Linked DNA regions of Homo sapiens: region 2 is linked to region 1. The links are contacts of gene promoters, found by promoter capture Hi-C in blood cells and fetal thymus (Javierre and others, 2016). All regions are on one chromosome and are shown on one strand. Each heading gives the region's core, a stretch centred on a gene start or on the middle of the fragment in contact. The rest is flanking DNA. Distances are from core to core; before and after follow the strand shown. Region 1 holds the start of H3-3B (H3.3 histone B). Region 2 overlaps UBALD2 (UBA like domain containing 2).

The links. The method cuts DNA at HindIII sites, captures the fragments that hold promoters and counts their contacts. A CHiCAGO score of 5 or more calls a contact.
Region 2: a fragment that was not itself captured here is called in contact with the fragment with the promoter of H3-3B in region 1 in 1 of 17 cell types (fetal thymus); the score reaches 7.4 in fetal thymus.

Annotation. Positions count from the first base shown.
Region 1 is chr17:75,778,331-75,781,813 of GRCh38, forward strand. H3-3B (H3.3 histone B) reads right to left here and starts at 1,449. Exons shown (of 4, transcript NM_005324.5): 1 at 1,327-1,449; 2 at 717-854; 3 at 480-633; 4 at 1-393. The coding sequence starts at 844. The coding sequence ends at 265. RefSeq lists an enhancer at 537-1,141 and a silencer at 770-1,039. The HindIII fragment of the contact is 7,034 bases long and covers 1-3,483 here.
Region 2 is chr17:76,266,695-76,269,960 of GRCh38, forward strand. The region is part of intron 2 of UBALD2 (UBA like domain containing 2); the gene reads left to right. Among named protein-coding and RNA genes, the nearest start is that of UBALD2, 3.0 kb to the left of the region's middle. RefSeq lists an enhancer at 1,437-1,666. The HindIII fragment of the contact is 189 bases long and covers 1,414-1,602 here.

The DNA of each region.
Region 1 (3,483 bases), core at 199-2,698:
ATTAACATACAGAAACATGCATCATGAGAAGCAAGAAGTATCACCCATCCCTTCTGCATATTAGCAACTTGTCACTCCTGAGCAACAGTGCTCACATCACTGAGGTCTGTGAACAGTCACTTTTCGCATTCATCCTGAGTGAAAGATGGAATGACTTAAGTACAAATGCAACATATTATAAACAATTTCTTACAAAAAAAGTCACAAATTAAACCAAAGTATTTTACAGAATTTACTACAAAACGCCATAAAAACTGCCTTCACTTAAGCTCTCTCTCCCCGTATCCGGCGAGCCAACTGGATGTCTTTGGGCATGATGGTGACTCTCTTAGCGTGGATGGCACACAGGTTGGTATCTTCGAACAGACCCACCAGGTACGCTTCGCTAGCCTCCTGTTGAGGACGAGAGCCGCACTATTAATCCCACTCGGGGAGCGGAAACCGCCCAGCCCTCCCCCGGCTCCAGGCCTTTGTCTTACCTGCAGCGCACCGATGGCTGCGCTCTGAAACCTCAGGTCGGTTTTGAAATCCTGCGCGATCTCCCTCACCAACCTCTGGAAGGGCAGCTTCCGGATGAGCAGCTCGGTCGACTTCTGATAACGACGAATCTCTCGAAGCGCCACGGTCCCGGGCCTGCAGCGAGCAGGGGAGGAGTGAGCGGACGCTGCCGCACAAAGCCGGCCACCGCCGGGCCATTGTTCCCCCGCCCGACCTACCTGTAGCGATGAGGCTTCTTCACCCCGCCGGTAGAGGGAGCGCTTTTCCTGGCGGCTTTCGTGGCCAGCTGTTTGCGGGGGGCTTTCCCACCGGTGGACTTACGAGCAGTCTGCTTGGTTCGGGCCATTTTCTTTCACCTAAGAAAGACGCCCCGAAGATAAGGCCGCCGCGCTCACCCGGGCCGCCCCCCAGGGCTGCGGGGGGAGGAACAGATCCTGGCCCCACCGCCGGGCCTCCCGCCTCCCCGCGCCCCACCTCGCGGCAGCAGATGGCCGAGGGCCGCCAACCTCCTCCCCCTCCCCTAATGACTCAGGCTGCGAGGAGCGGCAGCCTCCCCCGGGAGGGGGAGCGCGGGGAGGAGTCACTTCCCTTCCTCGACGGGCGGAGGCCCGACTGCCCGGAACCCGGCGTCGGGACCTCTGAATCACCGCCGGGAAAAGGCGGGGACACAGTTCCGGAACAAAGCCCCAAGGGGAAACCTCCCGGCCCCATACCCGACCCGACGCCAGCGGCCCGAGCAGCCCCCGCCGCTCGGCTCCCAACGGCCGCGGCGCGCGGCGCCAACGGTTGGCAGAACCTGAAGCCGCGGGTAAACCTACGAACGCCTACCCAACGCCGAAGTTTTAGGCCACTTCTCCGACCGCCGCGCCGCTTCCGCTGCCCGAGGAAGAGCCGCAGTCGACGAGCGAAAAACCAGCACCGCCCAACGAACGACCAAACCGCTCTGCGCTCCAAGCCCCCGCGTCGCCTCCGTTTTTATAGGCACGCTTCACGCTGCGTCTCTGCGTCATAGAACCCTTATTTGCATACACCAACGACTTTTTCTATTGGTGGGCGCTTTCGCCGACGCGCTGACATCCCCCGACACAAAGGCCGTGCTTCGGCACTGTTCCATGATTGGTGCATATCTACGCCGCTGATTGGCTGTTAAAGTGGCCTAATGATTGGATGGATGCAAAGAGGAATGGACGAATCAGAGTTTAGCACTAAGCGGCCCTTCTGATTGGATAAAATGGAGCTATGTTTGGATCCTTCCCTTGGTTCCAAAGCTCTGCAATAGAAAGTCAATGCAAATGAATTGCATTGGTCTCTATCAGAATGAGCAGGAGTCTAAACTCACAGGCATCAAGCGAATGCTATGCACCCAGAGAGGCTACTTTAACAAAATTTTTGTAAATATTTTCCGATGTAAAATAAAATGTGTTCCCTGGATTATTTACCTTTCATAATATTTTGATAGTTAAGTGCGTAGTGTGAGAATTAGAATTCAGTAAATCATGTTATATTATCAAGTATTTCATATATCATGCACATACATTTTTAACAAAAAGCAGGTCTCTTGGTGGGGTGGGAAGGGGTAAATAATAAATACAAATAAACATGTTAATAAATTATTTTAGAGGAACTGTTTTGTATGTTTTTAAGGTGTCACAAAATATTTTTTGATTTCCATATGCTTAAACAAGAGGTAACTTACTAAGCAACATGTTACTTGAATTATGTACTTCAAGTGAATGAAATGACTACAGCTAGAAAGTAAATAGTCCTACTATAGTATTTGCATGTCCATAAAGAATAAACAAAAGATAACTAAACTAGATATGTGCCCTTTTGTTTAATAGCATATCCTGGCAGGTATTACTTCTGAAGAAACATGACAAATGTGTAAATATGCTAATCCCTACCTTTGCCTAAGTAAATGTCTTGGGTAGATTGTAATAGTCAGTTCTTCAGTTGCCTCAAGTATATAAAATACCATAGCAGGCTTAAGGTTAAGACTAGCCAAGCAAAGCCCAGAAAATTGAAATAGAGCCTTGGGCATTCTACTCTATAGTTCTGATGCTGGTCCAGCAAATATTCTAAACTATTAAAAGAAAAAGTAGCAGATACAGGTATGCATAGGTTTCAACTAAATTAATTTTTTTTTTTGAGACGGAGTCTGACTCTGTCGCCCAGGCTGGTGTGCAGTGGCACGATCTCAGCTCACTGCAAGCTCCGCCTCCTGGGTTCACACCATTCTCCTGACTCAGCCTCCGAGTAGCTGGGACTACAGGCGCCTGCCACCACGCCCGGCTAATTTTTTTGTATTTTTAGTAGAGACGGGGTTTCACCGTGTTAGCCAAGATGGTCTTGATCTCCTGACCTTGTGATCCACCCGCCTTGGCCTCCCAAAGTGCTGGGATTACAGGCATGGGCCACCGCCCCTGGCCGGTAATTTTTTTTTTTTTTGAAGTGGGGTCTTGCCCAGTCACCCATGCTAGAGTGCAGTGGTGCAGTGACCACGGCTCACTGCAGTTTTGACCTCCTGGACTCAAGCAATCCTTCTGCCCCAGCCTCCCAAAGTGCTAGGATTACAGGCATGAGCCACCATGCCTGACCTTCAGAGAATTACAGTACGTAAGTACAAATACCTCAATATTGACTTGTCACACCAGTGGTCAAGTATCAAACAATGAGAAAAAAATGCACACTTTGAAAAACTAGCTCAGCTTCATCTCAATCTCTGGTATCAAATTCCTGTTATTATTTCAGCCTTCTTAATTTTTTTTTTTTTTTTTTTGAGACGGACTCTTGCTCTGCTGCCAGGCTGGAGTGCAGTGGCGCGATCTCAGCTCCATGCAACCTCCACTTCCTGGGTTCAAGCGATTCCCCTGCCTCAGCCTCCCAAGTAGCTGGGATTGTAGGCATGCGCCACCATGCCCGGCTAATTTTTTGTATTTTAGTAGAGACAGGGTTTCCCATGTTGGCCAAGATGGTCTCGATCTC
Region 2 (3,266 bases), core at 258-2,757, 490 kb after region 1:
GGCCCAAGCTTTTGCCCTCCTGGCCATGGGGTACTCTGCTTTCTTGAGGCCCAGGACATCTCTCCTGTACCCTACCCCCCTAGTTACCTATTAGCCCTGCTGGGGGAGGAGGGGCAGGGCTCAGCGATAGGGATCTTAAAACATTGTTCCCCAGGAGAGCTGTTGTGGACTCTAGGTGCATTTTTGGGATTTTTAACACTTGGTGCCCTTGCCTTTGGCTCTCTGTTTTCATCTAGTCACAGAGGACAAGTAGAGGGGTCTGTCTTGACCTTGTTAGCTAGTTTTTCTCAGAATGGCTGATGCTGTATATAAATCAAGCCAAAATGGCATTTGAGTATGATGGGAGCATGGTGCTGGCCACAGGGCTCTTAGAAACCCAAGAGGGTTTCATCTCCAGGGGACACCGTCCCCTGCACTTGACCAGGAGAAATGGCCAGCACCCGCCTATGCTTGAGTCTCGAAGCTTCCTGCCATCTCCTGTCACCGGATCCTTGAGATTTCCTTCCACCAGCTGTGGCCATCCCAAAAAACTCAGAACTTCCAGATACTACAGCCATTCTGAGGGGCTGAGAACAGGGAGGCTCCCCAGGAAGAGCTGGTCTGGCATCCTGTTTAGTTCCTATTGCCCCTCCTCTGCAAATCCCAAGGAGATGCTAAGTCTCTTTTGAAGCTTCCCTCAAGGAAGGCAGCAGGTTTTGTAACACACATAACCAGTGTGTCCATCAGTGCCCAAGTCTGAGTGCCTTAGCAGCACAGTGGAGGACACCATCCCTGCTCTCAAAAAGTTCATGGTTTCTTTTTTTTTTTTTTTTTTTTTCTAATTTTATTTTTGAGAAAGGCCAGGGCAGGGGGAGTCTCTATGTGGCCCAAGCTGGTCTTGAACTCCTGGCCTCAAGCTATCCTTCCGCCTCAGCCTCCCGAAGTGCTGGGATTATAGGTGTGAGCCACTGCACCCAGCTGGCAATTTCTTTTCTTTTTTTTTTTTTTTGAGACAGAGTTTCACTCTTATTGCCTAGGCGGAGTGCAATGGTGTGATCTCGGCTCACCGCAACCTTCACCTCCTGGGTTCAAACGATTCTCCTGCCTCATGGGATTACAGGCACGTGCCACCTGTAATCCCACACCTGGCTAATTTTGTATTTTTAGTAGAGACGGGGTTTCTCCATGTTGATCAGGCTGGTCTCGAACTCCCAACCTCAGGTGGTCCGCCTGCCTCGGCCTCCCAAAGTTCAGGGATTACAGGCGTGAGCCACTGCACCCGGCCTGGCAATTTATTTTGGACAAAGTAAGTCAAAGGAAAAAGATCAAAAAACGAAACACTAGAGACCAGTAACAGCAAAATGGCAAAACCAGAAGTCATGAGTAACTGATAAATGGTTGTCCCGTACATTACTGTAGATTCCCATAGTTGGAAGCTTCCCAGTTGATAAGGAGGGCTTCCCAGTTGGAAGTGGAGAAAGGCACTACAGACTTGAAGTGGGAGGACAAAGGTACAGGGGACAATGGGTTTTCTTGAGAACTGGCCGAGAGGGCATATCTGGTTCAAAACCCTCATTTTACAAAAGCAGAGAGAAGCTCCAGAGAGGTTCAGGAACTTGCCCAAGCTTACACAGGCAGGCCACCACAGGCCTGCCAGCCATCATCCCTGCTGTTCTCTGGCGGCTGTTTGAGGAGACAGGCCTCGCTGGCTGGCGGGGAACTGGGGAAGTCGGTCACGATGCTGTGATGCAATTGGCCTCCACCCCCACCCTTCATTCATTGTTTCCTGCTGCCGAGAAGTCATCCCCAGAGGGTGGGGGGGGGGCAGGGAGTAGTGGAGGGAGGAGGGGAAAGGTCTGGGTGGGGCCAGGCCTCTGCATTGGGTCCTTTGGCCTCCCCCTGAGGACCCCTAGAAAGGCAAGGGTCAGAGCTCCCTTGGTGCCCTGGGTGCTGACATGGTGTGGGGCTCAATGGACAGGGTGTGCTAGTGTCCCCATTCCATGTATGTTACACACCCCCTACACAACCTCCGGTTTCTAGCTGTGAAAGCTCCCTCTGTTTTTTTTTTTTTTTTTTTTGAGACGGAGTTTTGCTCTGCCACCTAGGCTGGAGTGCAGTGACGTGATCTCAGCTCACTACAACCTCCACCTCCCGGGTTCAAGTGATTCTCCGGCCTCAACCTCCCAAGTAGCTGGGATTATAGACGCCCATCACCACACCCAGCTAATTTTTGTATTTTTTAATAGAGACAGGGTTTCACCATGTTGGTCAGGCTGGTCTCGAACTCCTAACCTCAGGTGATCCACCCGCCTCGGCCTCCCAAAGTGCTGGGATTACAGACGTGAGCCACTGCGCCCTGCCAAAGCTCCCTCTTTCAAGGTGAAGAGCCCTCAAGTCGTTCCCCCAACTCCTGCGCCTGGGGGAGGGGCCAGTGTTGCTAAAATTAGGAGAAATTCAAAGAAGGACTCCTGTGGCTTCCTGGGAAAGGGAGAAAGCAGCTTTGAGGTCCCAGCCAGTTTTGTGTGGTCTTGTTCTCTGTGTTGCCTCTTGCCCATGCTGCTGACGAGGTGCTCCTGGATGGCACTCCAGCCCCTGCCCCCAGGGTAGTGACAGAAGACAGCAGATGGGGGACTGTAGCTACCCCCAGGAAGAGGACTGAGGGGCTGGACAGACTGAGAAACTGCCAGCCTGCAGGCAAGGGCAGGCCAGCTGTGTTTGTGGCCTGAGGCTACAGACACAGGACATTGAAATCCCTGGTTTGTGTCCTCAAGGGGCCCAGATATAAAGGGGCTCTTGACTCTGTGCAGCGTGGCCCAGTAGATGTTAAGAGCTTGGGCCTGCAGACTTGGGAGCTGGGGAGGTCCGTCTTCTCAACTTGCCCTCTGCTGTGGGTGCATTTTCGGGCAAGTGACTTGACTTCTGGGCCTCAGTTTCCTCATTTGTCATAAAGAGAGGATAATTGAAGCCACTAAGTGTCATTGTTAAGGGAGGCAAAGCCTTCAAGGCCTGGTGGCTGTCACCCTTAGTGTGGTGTGAACCCATCCACCAAGGTGGCTTAACTTTTCCAGGGTTGGCACAGGAGGGAGAGCCTCCCCGCTGGCCGCTCTCCCTTGCCTAGCAGCCTGGGAGCATCTGAGGGTGGCTGGTGGGGCAGTCAGCTGGTCTCCCTGCCCAGGGAAGGTGCGGAACAGTGGTGTCCTGGGCTGCCCCCTTGCCCTTTCACTTTAATCTGACACCTTAGCTCCTGGGTGCAATTAACCATTTACTTTGAATGCTCCTCGGGGTGT